Regions from separate parts of the Homo sapiens genome. Here regions 1, 2, 4, 5 and 6 are each linked to region 3. The links are contacts of gene promoters, found by promoter capture Hi-C in human tissues and cell types (Jung and others, 2019). All regions are on one chromosome and are shown on one strand. Each heading gives the region's core, a stretch centred on a gene start or on the middle of the fragment in contact. The rest is flanking DNA. Distances are from core to core; before and after follow the strand shown. Region 1 has its middle 4.5 kb from the start of ZNF48. Region 2 holds the start of ZNF771 (zinc finger protein 771). Region 3 holds the start of ZNF688 (zinc finger protein 688). Region 4 overlaps DCTPP1 (dCTP pyrophosphatase 1). Region 5 holds the start of SNORA30 (small nucleolar RNA, H/ACA box 30). Region 6 overlaps SRCAP (Snf2 related CREBBP activator protein).

Region 1 (2,700 bases), core at 34-2,533, 180 kb before region 3:
TGTCTCAAAAAAAAAAAAAAAAAGGCTCTTGCTTGGTCATTGTGTTAAATGTAGAGTTTATATGAATTAACAGTGACACCATAGTCCATTTCCATGCTTATTAATTCCAACTAATTATGGCGAATCATTCATATGATATTTGGGGCTTGTTTGCTTTGACAAAGGAAGGCAGTACCTTGAGTTTCATATAGGGCAGTGTGTGGTGGACAGCTCTCTTCCCATTTAGTAATTATTTAGTCATTTGGATTAGTTTTTTTTTTTTTTTTTTTTTTTTTTTTTTTTTTTTTAGAAACAGGGTCTTGTTCTGTTGCCCAGGCTGGAATGTAGTAGTGCGATCATAGGTTATTGCAGTCTTGAACACCTGGGCTCACTTCTGCCTCCCAAGTAGCTGGGACTATAGCTTTGCAACACCATCCCTGGCTAATTCTTTTTTCTTTTTAGAGATGGGGTCACTATGTTGGCCAGGCTGGTCCCAAACTCCTGACCTCAAATGATTCTCCTGCCTTGGCCTCCCAAAGCACTAGGATTCCAGGTGTAAGCCACTATGCCCAGCCCGTATTAGTTCTTCTTCATCTTGCCATCATGTCTTCACAGTTACCTCTTCCCCACCCCTTGCATCCCTTGAGGGACTTCTATATCTTTAGACATTAATTCAAGTTCAGATCTAATAACTATAGGATTTGTCCTCTCAAAGTCAGAGTTAGGCAGCTCTGCAAATGAATATGGCAGGCATGCTGACCATTTATACCCTCTTCTATTTCCCAGCACAAATGCCCAGTACCTGATGGATACCCAGGAAATGTTTGTGGAACAAATGAATAAACTTACATTCTTTTTTATTTTTATTTATTTATTTTTTTTGAGTCGGAGTCTCGCTCTGTCGCCCAGGATGGAGTGCAGTGGTGCGATCTGGGCTCACTGCAACATCCCCTCCCGGGTTCACGTGATTCTCCTGCCTCAGCCTCCCGAGTAGCTGGGGCTACAGGCACCTGCCACCACGCCCAGCTAATTTTTTGTATTTTTAGTAGAGACGGGTTTTTTTTTTTTTTTTTTTTTTTTTTTTTTTTTTTTTTGAGATGGAGTTTTCTCTGTCGCCCAGGCTGGAGTGCAGTGGTGTGATCTCGGCTCACTGCAAGCTCCGCCTCCTGGGTTCATGCCATTATCCTGCCTCAGCCTCCTGAGTAGCTGGGACTACAGGCGCCCGCCATCACGCCTGGCTAATTTTTTTTTTATATTTTTAGTAGAGACGGGGTTTCACCGTGTTAGCCAGGATGCTCTCGATCTCCTGACCTCGTGATCTGCCCACCTCAGCCTCCCAAAGTGCTGGGATTACAGGCGTGAGCCACCGCGCCTGGCCAGAGACAGGGTTTCAATGTGTTAGCCAGGATGGTCTCGATCTCCTGACCTCGTGATCTGCCCACCTTGACCTCCCAAAGTGCTGGGATTAGAGGCGTGAGCCACTGCGCCCGGCCGAATAAACTTACATTCTATCTTCATCTTTCACTGCTTTCCTAATATGTAAACTCACGGCACATTAAAACGGAACTATTCTCTATTTTCCTCTCTGAAGATAGGTCGTAATCCATAGTCATCTTTGGATCTCAAGCTTCTAGCACACATTAGGTTTTCTTTTATTTTTATTTTTTGAGACGGAGTCTCACTCTGTCGCCCAGGCTGGAGTGCAGTGATCTCTGCTCACTGAAACCTCTGCCTCCCGGGTTCAAATGATTCTCCTGCCTCAGCCTCCTGAGTAGCTGGGATTACAGGTGAGCACCACCACCTCCAGCTAATTTTTTTATTTTTAGTAGAGACAGGTTTTCACCATGTTGGTCAGGCTGGTCTCCAACCCCTGACCTCATGATCCGCCCGCCTCAGCCTACCAAAGTGCTGGGATTACAGGCGTGAGCCACTGCTCCTGGCAGTCTTTTTCTTTTCTTTTTTTTTTTTTAAACAGAGTTTTGTTCTGTTGCCCAGAACGGAATGCAGTGGTGTGATCTCAGCTCACTGCAACCTCCGGCTCGCGAGTTCAAGCGATTCTCCTGCCTCCGCCTCCCGAGTAGCTGGGATTACAGGCGCGTACCACCACATCTGGCTAATTTTTGTATTTTTTAGTAGAGATGGGGTTTCACCATGTTGGCCAAACTGGTCTCGAACTCCTGACCTCAGGTGATTCACCTGCCTCAGCCTCCCAAAGTGTGGGGATTATAGGCGTGAGCCACTGATTCCAGCCTAAGGTTTTCTTTCTCTTTCCTTTTCTTTCTCCTTTTTTTTTGGCGGGGGGGTGGGGGTGGGATAGGGTCTTGCTCTGTCACCCAGGCTGGAGTGCAGTGGCATGATCTCAGCTCCCTGCAACTTTCACCTCCCGCGCCCAAGAGATCCTCTCACCTCAGCCTCCCAAGTAGCTGGGACTACAGGTGTGCACCACCACTCCCAGCTAACTTTTTTGTATCTTTTTATTTATTTTATTTTTTCCTGAGGCGGCGTATCGCTCTGTCGCCCAGGCTGGAGCGCAGTGGCGCGATCTCGGCTAACTGGAAGCTCCGCCTCCCAGGTTCACGCCATTCTCCTGCTTCAGCCTCCTGAGTATCTGGGACTACAGGCGCCTGCCACCACGCCCATCTAATTTTTTTGTATTTTTAGTAGAGACGGGGTTTCACTGTGTTAGCCAGGATGGTCTCAATCTTCTGACCTCGTGATCCA
Region 2 (2,700 bases), core at 62-2,561, 160 kb before region 3:
TCTCGTGCCTCAGCCTCTCGAGTAGCTGGGATTACAGGCATGCACCACCAAGCTTGGCTAATTTTTGTATTTTTAGTAGAGACGGGGTTTCACCATGTTGGTTAGGCTGGTCTCGAAATCCTGACCTCAAGTGATCCACCGGCCTCCGCCTCCCAAAGTGCTGGGATTACAGGCATGAGCCACCGCGCCCGGCTTTGAAACGATTTTTTTTTTTTTTTTTTTTTTTTTTTTTTGAGACGGAGTCTCGCTCTGTCGCCCAGGCTGGAGCGCAGTGGCGCGATCTCGGCTAACTGCAAGCTCGCCTCCCGGGTTCACGCCATTCTCCTGTCTCAGCCTCCCGAGTAGCTGGCACTACAGGTGCCCGCCACCACGCCCAGCTAATTTTTTGTATTTTGTTTAGTAGAGTCGGGGTTTCACCGTGTTAGCCAGGATGGTCTCTATCTCCTGACCTCGTGATCCGCCCGCCTCGGCCTCCTAAAGTGCTGGGATTACAGGCGTGAGCCGCCGTGCCCGTCCGAAAAGATTTTTTAAAAGTAAAAATACCCTAAGGGCCAAACAAGGTACCCCTGTGGACTGGATTTAGCTTTGGGCTGTTGTTCACCTAGGCTACTGATTGTCAGGGATGCTATGACATCCTTATCGTGTAACTTAGGCAAATCAGTTTACCTCCCTGAACTTCAGTGAGCTCATCTGTAAAATGGATCAGGACCCATCGTTATGCGGATCAAATGAGACCAGGTATGTAAGACGCTGAACAGCGCTGGCGCATGGTAAGCACCCCACGCATGACGCGACAGCGGTAGCTTGGGTGGATGTTGAATTGGTTAGGATGTATTCAAGGATATCCCAGAGGCCAGCGGAATAGGCGAAGCCGAGAAAGATGGAGAAAAGACGGCAGAGGAGATAAAGAGGGAATGGAAGAAGTGAGGAGGCAACAGGGTCCGCCCTCCAGGCGGGGCGCCAGGGAGAGGCCCAGGCCGGGGCGGGAGCGCACGTGGCCTATTTCGGGCGGAGCAGAGGCACTGGGCGCAGCGGAGACCTCCAAGCCGGCCCCAGGAGACGGGCCGCGAGGTTAGGTTGGAACTCGGCGGCAAGGACCTTGAACGCCGGGCTGGGGCGGCTCCAGGTGCTTGGGAGTCGGGGGACTGCGGAGGACGCCAAGTCTGAGCTCGCCGCCCTCTCCGAGCCGTTTGGGCCGGACGCCTGGGTCCTTCGGGCTCCGCCCCAGGGGGTGGGGCTATATGTTCGGACCAATGACCGGCCGTCCCTGCGGTCCCGCCCCCTCCCCGCCCCCGGAGCCGCGGCCTCGCTGAGTGCCCAGCCGCCCGGCGCCCAGGCCTGGGGCACCGCGAGTGCCGAACCTTCGGCTGGTGAGTGCGCACCCCCTCCCCGGGGTTTCCGCCCCGATCCCGCCTCCAGCCCGTGCCCCAGAGCTCCAGGTCGCCGACCCGGGCCCTGGGGAGTGACTCAGCGCAAGGATGGTGGCGACTTGCGGGGGCTGGAGATTCGAACTGTTCAAGGCCTTGAATGCTGGGATGAGTGGGGTGAACGCGAGCCCTCGGAGCTGGTCCCGGGGCTGTGCCAGAGCGTGGGGCCGGGCTGGGGTGGACGGGAGAGGACCAGATTCGGAGACCAGGGCAGGGCGGGAGAAGCCACGGCTGCACTGCCTTGCTGGGCCAGGGCCACGGTGGGCGGGGGGGGGGGTGGGGGGGGGCGGGTCCTGAGCTTCTGATCCAGCTCCCCGCCTCAGGACACCAAGATGCCTGGCGAACAGCAGGCAGAGGAAGAGGAGGAGGAAGAGATGCAGGAGGAGATGGTGCTGCTGGTGAAGGGTGAGGAGGATGAGGGTGAGGAGAAGTATGAGGTGGTGAAACTCAAGATCCCCATGGACAACAAGGAGGTATGTGTCACACACACCCTGGGGCACACTGTCCCCAAACCTGGTCCAGGCCCAGCCTCCCTCAGATAGAAGCCAGGGATCTTGCCCCTACTTTTCCCAGAATCTCGGATCTAAAACCTCAGGATTGGCCCATCCTTCTGCCCTACTGCCTGGGCTTCCATCATACAAAAGTCACGCCTACTGTCCCAGGCTTCCTGCTGGGTGCAGGAGATTAAACTCCGTCCTTGGATCCCCCATGGAGCTTGATGTTAGACTGAAGGGTAACCACACAGTTAGAATCCCGTGTGATGGCTGCAGGTACAGGGGGATGATGAAGCCTAGAAGTGGGAACTTAACTCAGATTTAGAGGTTGGGGAAAGGTCAGGTTAGTTCAACAGCAACAGTAACAATAGCTAACCCTTGCCTAGCATTTTCTATGTGCCAGGCACTGTTCTAAGCACCTCGATTCTATGATGTCGGTAGCATTTATTCCATTTTACAGATGAGGAGACTGAGGCCCAGGGCAGTTTGGTAACTGGCCACAGGTCTCAAAGTAAAAGGATGGCTTATGTGAGACTAGTAGGAGTCTGGGGTCAGAAGTGGGGTGATGGACCCAGTCAGAGGAAATGGCTCTTTTATTATTACTGTTGTTATTGTTTGAGACAGGGTCTCATTCAGTCACCCAAGCTGTAGTGCAGTACAGCTCACTGCAGCCTTGACTTCCCTGGGCTCAGGTGATCCTCCCACCTCAGCCTCCCAAGTAGCTGGGACTACAGGCATGCACCACTACACCTGGCTAATTTTTTTTTGTTTTGTTTTGA
Region 3 (2,700 bases), core at 119-2,618:
ACTTCAGGACTCTCCTTCACAGGAGCCTTTCTAGGCCCTTTGGCTCTTGGGACTTCCTCCGGTTCCTCTTCCTTCCTGTTTGGGACATCTCCTGGGAAACCGGAATTAAGTTACACTTACAAACACTTTTGCACAGACTGTCTCAGGTTATAGAATGCTTTTCACTTAAGGCAGTGAGGGAAGTTCTGTCCAGTGATTAACACACAGGCTTTAGAACAAGGTAAACAGGATTCAGATCTCCTAAAAGTGCCTTATCTGAGCCTTGGTTCCTTATGCATCAAATGGGAATAATAATGGCTTTTGACTTCACAGCGTTACTGGTTTAGCTGAGTAGATGCATGTTAAGCACTTAGGAAGTGCTCAGGAAGCAGGGGCTATTATTTATTTATTTATTTATTTATTTATTTATTTATTTATTTATTTTTGAGACGGAGTCTCACTCTGTCACCCAGGCTGGAGTGCCTGGTTGGACTGGGCTCCCAGTCCTCACAGGACCGCTGTCCCATGTTCTGAAAACTTTGTACCAGGTCTGCCTTCTTTACTCCTCTAGTACCCAACACAGTTGAATTTCTTTAGGGATGCTGGAAGTGGGGGCCTGAAAAGAAACTCTGCTAGACAGGAAGCCCTGGAAAACCAAGTGGGGGGACCCGGGACTATCCCTCACCTCTCCGAGCTCCTCCCAGTCTTTCCCCCTTCTCAGGATCCTGGGCGGCGGGGCTCCAAGCCTCACTCTCCTGTTCCATCCAAGAGATGAGGGCTGGTTTGGGGCCTGGGAATCCTGGGAGAGAACAGGGATCACAGCGCGGGCCTGAGAGGCCATCGTGGGAAGATGGCATTCCCCTCCAGGCTGAGGGCACCCCCTCGGAGCTTATACTCAACCTGGAAGGGGCTGCAGTGCTGCTGCCTGAATGAAATGGATGCGGGTGAAAACACTCCCGAGGGGGTACCTGAAGCCCTGGGAACGGGAGGTGGCTGCTGGTGTTGGTGCAAGAGTGCGGGATTAGGGCTCACAGTCCTCTCGGCCCTTCTACATCATCTCCCCTGTGAACCCGGTGAAGGAGGAGGGGGCTCGGACCCGGGGCTCTCACCGAGCGCGCCCAGGTGGCCGTAGGTCTCCTGCATCACGTCCCGGTACAGAGCCCTCTGCGCGGGCCGCAGACAGCCCCACTCCTCCGGGGAGAAGTACACGGCCACGTCCGCGAAGCTCACAGTCCCGGGCTTCCTGCAACCAGGCCGGGTCTCCCCGGGCCTCGGCGCCAGGAGCGGGGCTGGGGGCGGCGCCATGGGGCCTCGCAGCCCCGATCGGCGGCCGCCAGGTCCCTGGAGCCGCCGCCTCCCCGCTCCCGGCCTCAGCTGTCGTTGTCCACAGGAAGGGCGGCCCCGCCCAGCCGTGGCGTCCGAACGCAGCCGAGGCAACCGAAGTAGCAGGGACTGGCTGCTAGGGATTCGAGGATTCTGATAGGGACAAATATAATTCCTCAGTGTTTATTCACTTCATGGCCGCTTGGACATAGACACCCGGGTTAAGGGACCCGGAAGGTGCCTTCTGAAAATATGGCGACCACCCTTCAATTGTCACAGGCTGCTCTTAAGGGCGCCATTATTTGACCATATCAAATATGGAGCCTTTCTGACTTCTCTGGCCTCATCGTCCCACTTGCCCTTAAATAAAGCCGCTTCGGCTGCTTTTTCTAGTGGGGGAGGCGGGGTGTCTGGGAAGTAGAGGAGAGGCTTCTTGCCTTCAAGAAAGATGTAAGGGCCCGAAGCTTCACTTACCCCTCTGTACCCGCAATACGCAACGGCCGATGATTGGCGACGATCCCGGAAGAAGCTGCGCGGTGATTGGCCTGGGACTGGCGGGGCATTTGAAGGGACCCCGCGGTCCTGAAGCCTCTGTTGACAGACTGGAGCGCAGCGGAGACCTCGGCATCTGCGGTGCTCGGGATTGTGTCCCCTACGGTCTCTTACCGTGCCTCCCGATGGCGGGAGCTGGAATTTGGTCCCCAGACCCCTTGGGAAGACGCGCACACCCTGGCAAACCATGTGTACACCCGCGGTAGAAGCAGGTGCGTGTTTTACAGTAGCTTAGCTGCGGAGTCCACCCAGCCCCTGGCATCCGCAGCTCGGCTCGCTCAGGCTCTAGACCGAAGCTGCAGGCGAAGGAACGTGCTTGGTGAGGATGGAATCGGAATGGGGAAGTTTTAAATTAAATAGTAATTGTTGCTAACATACATGAATTTATTTTTTGTTTGTTTTGAGACAGGGTCTTGCTCTGTGGCCCAGCAGTGCGATCCTAGCTCACTGCAGACTCGACCTCCCGGGCTGAAGCGATCTTCTCACCTCAGCCTCCCGAGTAGCTGGGACCACAGGCGCACACCCAATGCTTGGCTAATTTTTAAATTTTAAAACAGAGACAGGGTCTTGCTATGTTGCCCAGGCTGGTCTGGAACTCCTGGCCTCAAGCAATTCTCCTGCCTCGGCCTCCCAAAGTGCTGTGATTACAGGCATGCGCCACGGTTCCCAGCCATTTCTACTTTTTCTTTGAGAAGGAGTTTTACTCTTGTTGCCCAGGCTGGAGTGCAATGGCGCTATCTCGGCTTGCCCAGGCTGGAGTGCAATGGCGCTATCTAGGCTCACCGCAACCTTCGCCTCCCAGGTTCAAGCGATTCTCCTGCCTCAGCCTCCCAAGTAGCTGGGATT
Region 4 (2,700 bases), core at 126-2,625, 150 kb before region 3:
GGCAGGAGAATCGCTGGAACCTGGGAGGCGGAGGTTGCAGTGAGCTGAGATCACGCCACTGCACTCCAGCCTGGGTGACAGAGCGAGACTCAGTCTCAAAATATATATATAAATAAATAAAAAGGCAAACGACTGGGCACGGTGGCTCAGGCCTGTAATCCCAGCACTTTGGGAAGCCAAAGTGGGCAGATCACCTAAGGTCAGAAGTTCAAGACCGGCCTGGCCAACATGGTGAAACCCCATCTCTACTAAAAATACAAAAAAGTAACCGGGCGTGGTGGCGGGCACCTGTAGTCCCAGCTACTCGGGAGGCTGAGGCAGGAGAATGGTGTGAACCCGGGAGGTGGAGCTTGCAGTGAGCCGAGATCACACCACTGCACTCCAGCCTGGGCGAAAGAGTGAGACTCCGTCTCAAAACAATAAAAAAAAAAGCTGGGCGTGATGGTGGGCACCTGTAATCCCCGCTACTGGGAGGCTAAGGCATGAGAATCGCTTGAACTCAGGAGGCAGAGGTTGCAGAGAGCCGAGATCATACCGCCGCACTCCAGCCAGGCCTACAAGAGCAGGACTCTGTCTCAAAAAAAAAAAAAAAAGGAAAACAGGTAATAACAGTAACTGCAAAACTTACCAAGTGTACTTTACTATGTGCCAGGCCCCGCCCTGAGCATTCACATAACTCATTGAAACCTCACGACCCTATTGGGCAGGTACTATTCTTTTTATTTGATAGACAAGGAAGCTGAAGTGCAGAACGATTAATTTGAGTAATGTCATTTAGCTTGCAAGTGTCAAAGATGGCATTTGAACCCAGACAGCCTGGCTCCACCATCTGGACTCTTACAGCCTTCAATCTCTAAGAGGGGGAAGGAACTTACATGACATCCTACTGGGAATTTGCTAGAAACCAGATCTCTCTGCCCTGCAGGCAAAAGGTACAACAGGGAAACACGAGAATGGGTCTCAGAGGCACCCCTGGTACCCCCGTCATCACCTGCTGAGACAGAGAGCCTCCCTGGCCATCCAGGAATAATCTAGAAGTTATCGCCCAAAACCATTTTACTGGGAGAACAAACACCAGGAGGCTACCTTCTAGAGGCTGCTGGGCCTCAGACCTCAAGAAGTGGAGGCCTCAGGCCCATGATCTATTCTGAAAAGACTAGAAAAAGGCTCCAGGGCCAGGCCACTCTCTGCTCTTCAGACACCACCCTGAGTTGCAAGTCCTGTGGCCATCTTTCTAGGTTGAGGTCTGGCCTGTGGAGTCACAGGGAATGTCCGCAGGCCCCACAGCCTGGTCTTCAGAGATGGCCCCATGGGGCAATTCTGTATACTTGCGGGAAGAGCTGCGGGCCAGATGGGCTGGGTAGCGTCGCCGGTTGATGTCCATTTTGGAGAGCACTGCTAGCGGCAGATCCACACGGCAGCGGGCTGCTAATGCCACCAGGTAGATGAGGACGTCACTAAGCTCCTCTTGAAGGGCTGCCCGTTCCCTGGGGGACCAGCCTTGGGGGCCAGGTTCCCCATCGGTTTTCCACTGACTAGGGGCAGAACACAGACAGACACACACTCAGATGTAACCTGGGGCAATGGGCTCTGCCAGTCCTTGCAGTAATAACACCCACCTCCAAGGACGACCTAACCAATCTGGGCCCTGGGAAGAGTCAGGTGGGGAAGAGACCCCGACAGATGATACCAAGATGTCTGTGTCTCTCCCTGGGCCAAGGAGTGGCCAAAAGAATGTTTCATCTGTTGAGACAAAGCTTTGAGGCCCAATTCTAATTCTCTCCAGCCCTAGCCGTCACCACCACAGACCAAACCTCGGACCTGGACCACTGCAGAAGCCTCCCCACTCATCTCCTGGCTAGCTCATCTTCTACTCCTGCCCAGACCATCTTTTCTATTTTTTGAGACGGAGTCTCGCTCTGTCGCCCAGGCTGGAGTGGAGTGCAATGGGGCGATACTGCAACCTCCGCCTCCCGGGTTCAAGCGATTCTCCTGCCTCCGTCTTCCGAGTTGCTGGGATTACAGGCATGTGCCGCCATGCCCGGCTAATTTTGTTTTTCTAGTAGAGACAGGGTTTTGCCATATTGGCCAGGCTGGTCTCGAACTCCTGACCTCAGGTGAGCCGCCCTCCTCGGCCTCTCAAAGTGCTGGGATTACAGGCATGAGCCACCGCACCCGGCCCACACCATCTTTTAAAAGCACAAATCAGGCTTGGCGCAGTGGCTCACGCCTATAATCCCAGCACTTGGGGAGGCTGAAGCGGGTGGATCATGAGGTCAGGAGTTCAAGACCAGCCTGGCCAAGATGGTGAAACCCCGTCTCTACTAAATATACAAAAAAATTAGCTGGGCATGGTGGTGGGCACCTATAATCCCAGGTACTCAGGAGGCTGAGGCAGAGAAATTCTTGAACCCAGGAGGCAGAGGTTGCAGTGAGCCGAGATCGCACCACAGCATTCCAGCCTGGGAAACAGAGCAAGACTCCGTCTCAAAAAAACAACAAAACAAAACAAAATGAAACAAAAAAAATTGGCTGGGTGCCATGGCTCATGCCTGTAATCCCAGCACTTTGGGAGGGTGAAGTGGGTAGATCACCTGAGGTCAGGAGTCCGAGACCAGCCTGGCCAACAAGGTGAAACCCCATCTCTACAGAAAATACGAATTAGTTAGGCATAGTGGCGCATGCCTGTAATCTCAGCTA
Region 5 (2,700 bases), core at 65-2,564, 140 kb after region 3:
TGAGGAAGAGGATGATGAGGAAACGATTGAAGTTGAAGAACAACAGGAAGGCAATGATGCAGAGGCCCAGAGGCGTGAGATTGAGCTGCTTCGCCGTGAGGGAGAATTGCCACTGGAAGAGCTGCTCCGTTCCCTTCCCCCTCAGCTGTTGGAAGGGCCTTCCAGCCCCTCTCAAACCCCCTCATCTCATGATAGTGACACCCGAGATGGGCCTGAAGAAGGTGCTGAAGAAGAGCCCCCTCAGGTGTTGGAGGTATAGGCAGAAGGAGCAGAGGGAGGGTTCAGAGGGGGAACAGAGGGAGAGGTTCAGGGTCTGAGTTCCGGGCTGTGAGGTTGGTTATGAGTTTTAGGAGTTCTGCTAGTAATGGACATTTGGGCTCTTTGGGGATGACTGGGGAAGAATCTGTTTGGGGCAAGTTGCATTTTGTGATTGGCAGGTTTTGGCGCTATAGTGGAAGAGCGTATTGCACTTTCCTCTTTAAATTGCTGTGTGGTCTTGAAAAAGTACTTCCTCTGACCGTTACTTGCCACTTCTCTGAACATGCCCTAATGTTCCCTTATTGGCTTACAGGTTGGAAGCTGGCATGGTACCCTTAAGTCTTTTCTGTTTCTCCATATGTCTCAAGTGCATGGGGAAGTGTTGGGTGCCTTTATTTGTTACCTGGCACTTTCACAGTTCCTTCCCCAGGCAGTGGGGCCAGGATTTGGTAGCTGGTGCTGAGAGAAAACCCTTGATTGTATTCTTGCCCTGGGATTATACCAGTGGCAACTGTCACTCAATGGGACAGTGATTCTCCTGTGACACCTTTTTCAAGTTTGTGCCATTCTTCTGCTACTGTAACCTTAGACCCTTCCCTTTTTTATCTTTTGCCATACAGATAAAGCCCCCACCCTCTGCTGTCACACAGCGCAACAAACAGCCTTGGCATCCAGATGAAGATGATGAAGAGTTTACTGCCAACGAAGAGGAAGGTCAGGGCTGTTCGGTTTGTCCTATTGCCCCTTACCCCTTGAATGAATTGTCTGGACCTAACCTTTCAGGCTTTCTCATCTGTTTCATTTGGACTGTGTCCTGTGCCTCTAGCCTCTATCCCTATTAATCTTGCTTCTGTCTCTTTCCTAGCGGAGGATGAAGAGGATACTATAGCAGCTGAGGAACAGTTGGAAGGGGAGGTGGATCATGCCATGGAGCTGAGCGAGTTGGCTCGAGAAGGTGACATTTACCAGACATTTTACTAAGCATCCACTTGGTGTCTGCGGTGTGCAGTACCAAGGATAAAGAGATGAATAAGGCACTTTGTATCCACCCTGGAGGAATTCCATGTCTAATGACTAAGACAGACTTGTAAACCAGTAATGATAAGTAGAAAGTGATGAGTGCTTATGATAGAAGTTTAAATGGTGATGTGGGAGTGAAATGGAGGGAAGAGCTAATGTAGGAAGATACTGACAGCATTTGACCTGGACCTTGAGAGGCTCACCAGGTTGATAATGTTCTTCCCAATTCCCATGGTACTTCCCCCAGGTTGTGGGGCTTGGCTTTGCTAGCTGATGCTGAAAGTAAGCTCTTTTGCCTCCCCTCAGACCTGGGCCTAGCAGTATCTACAGAGACCTAGGTAAAATTAACTGGTACTACTCAGACCTCCCCTTCTCCCTCCCCTCAGAGCAACCAAAAGCTTTTTGTTTCTCTTCCAGGTGAGCTTTCCATGGAGGAGCTATTGCAGCAGTATGCAGGAGCCTATGCCCCAGGCTCTGGGAGCAGTGAAGATGAGGATGAAGATGAGGTTGATGCTAATAGCTCTGACTGTGAACCAGAGGGGCCCGTGGAAGCGGAAGAGCCTCCTCAGGAGGATAGTAGCAGTCAGTCAGGTGAATATGTGGTCATGAAGCAGGAGCTGGGGAGGGTGGCCATTGGAAGAGCAGGTATGATGAGCAGTAAGCCTTGGTCTTACCCTTTAGACTCTGTGGAGGACCGGAGTGAGGATGAGGAAGATGAACATTCAGAGGAGGAAGAAACAAGTGGAAGTTCAGCATCAGAGGAATCTGAGTCTGAAGAGTCTGAGGATGCCCAATCACAGAGCCAAGCAGATGAAGAGGAGGAAGATGATGATTTTGGGGTGGAGTACTTGCTTGCCAGGGATGAAGAGCAGAGTGAGGCAGATGCAGGCAGTGGGCCTCCTACTCCAGGGCCCACTACTCTAGGTCCAAAGAAAGAAATTACTGACATTGCTGCAGCAGCTGAAAGTCTCCAGCCCAAGGGTTACACGCTGGCCACGACCCAGGTATCCCCAGGTTCTGGCCTCTCCTTTCTCATGTCTTGACTTTCTCATGTCCCCACAACAAATGCCTCATTTCCATTGTGTTACCTATATTTCCTCTCTGACAGGTAAAGACGCCCATTCCCCTGCTTCTGCGGGGCCAGCTCCGGGAGTACCAGCACATTGGGCTAGACTGGCTGGTTACCATGTATGAGAAGAAGCTTAATGGCATTCTTGCTGATGAGATGGGGCTTGGGAAGACCATCCAGACCATCTCTCTGCTTGCCCACTTGGCTTGTGAGAAAGGTAAGTAGGCAAGGCCCCTTCTTTTGTTCCCCCTAGTCTAGCTCCCTGGGAGCTTGTTCAGTGATGACTCCAGCTTCATTGACTTTTGCTTTATTGACTCCGGTCATTAACTGTATAGAGAGGACAGTGTAGGTGC
Region 6 (2,700 bases), core at 164-2,663, 160 kb after region 3:
TTCATTCAGTGATCATTTTGTGAACATGTTACATTTTGCTAATCATTTGGGATACAATAGCAAGTAAGACAGTGCAGCATAGAGTTTTTATTTAGCTGTATGGGAAAAGATGTCTGGTGGTACAAGACTGCACAGTAAGTAAACAGTAAATTTTGGTCTTGGAAAAGACAAGGACCTTTTTGTGTTGACTAGAATTATTTGGCGGTAACAGAAAACCAACTAACAGTCATTGTTTTCTTAATGAGCCAATCTGAGAATAGTGGTGTGTAGCTGTTTCAGTAGCTTAACGATATTTTCAGGGACCAGGACCTTTTCTTCCTTCTTTCTTTCTTTTTTTTTCAGATAGAGTCTCACTCTGTCGCCCAGGCTGGAGTGCAGTGGCTCGATCTCGGCTCACTGCAACTTCCGCCTCCTGGGTTCAAGCGATTCTCCTGCTTCAGCCTCCTGAGTAGCTGGGATTACAGGTGCACACCACCACACCCGGCTAATTTTTGTATTTTTAGTAGACACGGGGTTTCACCATGTTGGTCAGGCTGGTCTCGATCTCCTGACCTCGTGATCTGCCCACCTTGGCCTCCCAAAGTGCTGGGATTACAGGTGTGAACCACTGCGCCCAGCCTTTTTTTTTTTTTTGAGATGGAGTTTCGCTGTGTTTCAAGGTATTCTCCTGCCTCAGCCTCCCGAGTAGCTGGGATTACAGGTGCCCACCACAACGCCTGGGTGATTTTTTTGTATTTTTAGTAGAGACAGGGTTTCACCATGTTGGCCAGGCTGGTCTCGAACTCCTGACCTCGTGATCCCCTTGCCTCGGCCTTCCAAAGTGCTGGGATTACACACGTGAGCCATTGCACCCAGCCTTAAGGGACCAGGACTTTATCTTTCTACCCTGCTGTACCATCTTTAGCTTTTTATCTTTTTATTCTCATGCTTTTGTTTCTTCATGATGTTAGGATGGCTGCCATAACTCCAGGGTATACACCAATCCTCTAAACAAGAAACAAGGGGTTGAGACAAAACACTCTGAGAAGGTTTTCTGGGAACAAAAGACCTCCAAGCTGACTTTGCTTCATAACTCATTGGCTCAAACTGAGCTATATGCCCATACTTAGAGCAATCACTGACAAAGGGGAATAGCAAAAAAGACCTCTGGCTTATTTAGATCAACTTGATTTATTTTCTGGGTTTGGGTTGGGGCCTTCTTCACCTGGGAGCAAAGAACCTCTGCCAGCTGTCCAGGGTTAATCAGGTTCTTTTACCCAAGAATGGCTATTGGGTAAGTGACTAGTTCCACAGCCCTGCACAGACATTTGTATAGTAACATGTTTCGAGATTTTTTAAATTTCCTAGAATATAAGAAAATCAAAATTTTTATTAATATGTGTTCAATAAATGTTTTAGTAAAAAAAAGTGTTTTTGTTACATTTGAAACTATTCAGAGTAGATGAACTGAAAGTCTTGGTTAAAAGTGTTCAAGGCCGGGTGTGGTGACTCATACTTGTAATCCCAGCACTTGGGTAGGCTGAGGTGGGCAGCTCACTTGAGGCAAGTAAAGACCAGCCCAGGCAACATGGCGAAACCCTGTCTCCTCAAAAACTGAAAAATTAGTGGATATAGTGGTGCACACCTATAGTCCCAGCTACTCAGATGGCTGGATTGCAGGAGCCTGGGAGGTTGAGGTGCAGTCAGCTGTGATCATGCCACTGCACTCTAGCCTGGGTGACAGGGTGAGACCTTGTCTCAAAAATAAAATAAGGCTGGGCCTGGTGGCTCATGTCTGTAATCCCAGCACTTTGAGAGGCTGAGGTGAGTGGATCACTTGAGTTCATGAGTTGGAGACCAGCCTGGGCAACATGGCGAAACCCTGTCTCTACAAAAAATACAAAAATTAGCCAGGCGTGGTGACATACGCCTGTAGTCCAAACTACTTGGGAGGCTGAGGTGGGAGGATGGCTTGAGCCCGGGAGGCAGAGGTTGCAGTGAGCTGAGATCGCACCACTGCACTCCAGCCTGGGTAATAGAGCCAGACCTTGTCTCAAAAAATGAAATAATAAAGTGTTCAGGCTGGGCACGGTGGCTCACGCCTGTAATCCCAGCACTTTGGGAGGCTGAGGCAGGTGGATCACCTGAGGTCTGGATTTGGAGACCAGCCTGACCAACATGGAGAAACCCTGTCTCTACTAAAAATACAAAATTATCCGGACGTGGTGGCACATGCCTGTAATCCCAGCCACTCGGGAAGCTGAGGCAGGAAAATTGCTTGAATCCAGGAGGTGGAGGTTGCCGTGAGCTGAGATTCCACCATTGCACTCCAGCCTGGGCAACAAGAGCAAAACTCTGTCTCAAAAAAAAAAAAAGGAAAAGGAAAAAAATAAAAGTTCAAACTGTGTTACCAGAAATGTTGAAGTTATTTCTGTGTTTGATGGAAGGTTGAACTAGATAAACTTTCTAAGAGCCTTTACTGTTCTGATCTGTGACCTTAAATCCCTGTCTGTAAGCTGTGACCATGGATTTGTTGATATCTATCCTGTGAATCTGTTCTGGATTTCAGGTGGTATGACTATTGTAATACTTAAGGATCTCTTGCTCATAAAGCATTGGGGATTCTGTTTTTCCCTCGATGTTATGTATTCCCCTACTCTTTTAGACTCCAAGAAGTTAGATTCTAGGCTGGAGCAGACCGAAGAGGTGAAGCCCTTAAAG

The links. Contacts are between HindIII fragments. The study calls those that stand out against the background at their distance.
Region 1: a contact is called between a fragment that was not itself captured here and the fragment with the promoter of ZNF688 in region 3, in 1 of the 25 tissues and cell types used here (dorsolateral prefrontal cortex).
Region 2: the fragment with the promoter of ZNF771 here is called in contact with the fragment with the promoter of ZNF688 in region 3 in 1 of the 25 tissues and cell types used here (mesenchymal stem cells).
Region 4: a fragment that was not itself captured here is called in contact with the fragment with the promoter of ZNF688 in region 3 in 3 of the 25 tissues and cell types used here (lymphoblastoid cells, mesenchymal stem cells and thymus).
Region 5: a fragment that was not itself captured here is called in contact with the fragment with the promoter of ZNF688 in region 3 in 1 of the 25 tissues and cell types used here (dorsolateral prefrontal cortex).
Region 6: a contact is called between a fragment that was not itself captured here and the fragment with the promoter of ZNF688 in region 3, in 1 of the 25 tissues and cell types used here (hippocampus).

Annotation. Positions count from the first base shown.
Region 1 is chr16:30,389,567-30,392,266 of GRCh38, forward strand. It overlaps a transcript of ZNF48 not described here. Among named protein-coding and RNA genes, the nearest start is that of ZNF48, 4.5 kb to the right of the region's middle. The HindIII fragment of the contact is 2,143 bases long and covers 213-2,355 here.
Region 2 is chr16:30,406,295-30,408,994 of GRCh38, forward strand. ZNF771 (zinc finger protein 771) reads left to right here and starts at 1,312. Exons shown (of 3, transcript NM_001142305.2): 1 at 1,312-1,370; 2 at 1,751-1,900. The coding sequence starts at 1,760. RefSeq lists silencers at 1,036-1,215, 1,238-1,447. The HindIII fragment of the contact is 10,608 bases long and covers 1-2,700 here.
Region 3 is chr16:30,570,346-30,573,045 of GRCh38, forward strand. It overlaps ZNF688 (zinc finger protein 688), which reads right to left and starts at 1,369. Exons shown (of 3, transcript NM_145271.4): 1 at 1,089-1,369; 2 at 665-778; 3 at 1-91. The coding sequence starts at 1,284. RefSeq lists an enhancer at 1-274 and a silencer at 1,137-1,376. The HindIII fragment of the contact is 17,900 bases long and covers 1-2,700 here.
Region 4 is chr16:30,422,999-30,425,698 of GRCh38, forward strand. It overlaps DCTPP1 (dCTP pyrophosphatase 1), which reads right to left. Exons shown (of 3, transcript NM_024096.2): 3 at 617-1,535. The coding sequence ends at 1,235. Among named protein-coding and RNA genes, the nearest start is that of SNORA80C, 4.6 kb to the left of the region's middle. The HindIII fragment of the contact is 5,048 bases long and covers 1-2,700 here.
Region 5 is chr16:30,709,876-30,712,575 of GRCh38, forward strand. It overlaps SRCAP (Snf2 related CREBBP activator protein), which reads left to right. Exons shown (of 34, transcript NM_006662.3): 8 at 1-253; 9 at 879-972; 10 at 1,124-1,213; 11 at 1,696-1,869; 12 at 1,960-2,282; 13 at 2,387-2,564. It overlaps SNORA30 (small nucleolar RNA, H/ACA box 30), which reads left to right and starts at 662; the gene lies at 662-790. The HindIII fragment of the contact is 4,122 bases long and covers 1-2,700 here.
Region 6 is chr16:30,730,111-30,732,810 of GRCh38, forward strand. All of the region lies in intron 27 of SRCAP (Snf2 related CREBBP activator protein), which reads left to right. Among named protein-coding and RNA genes, the nearest start is that of TMEM265, 9.2 kb to the right of the region's middle. RefSeq lists an enhancer at 1,581-1,740. The HindIII fragment of the contact is 8,180 bases long and covers 1-2,700 here.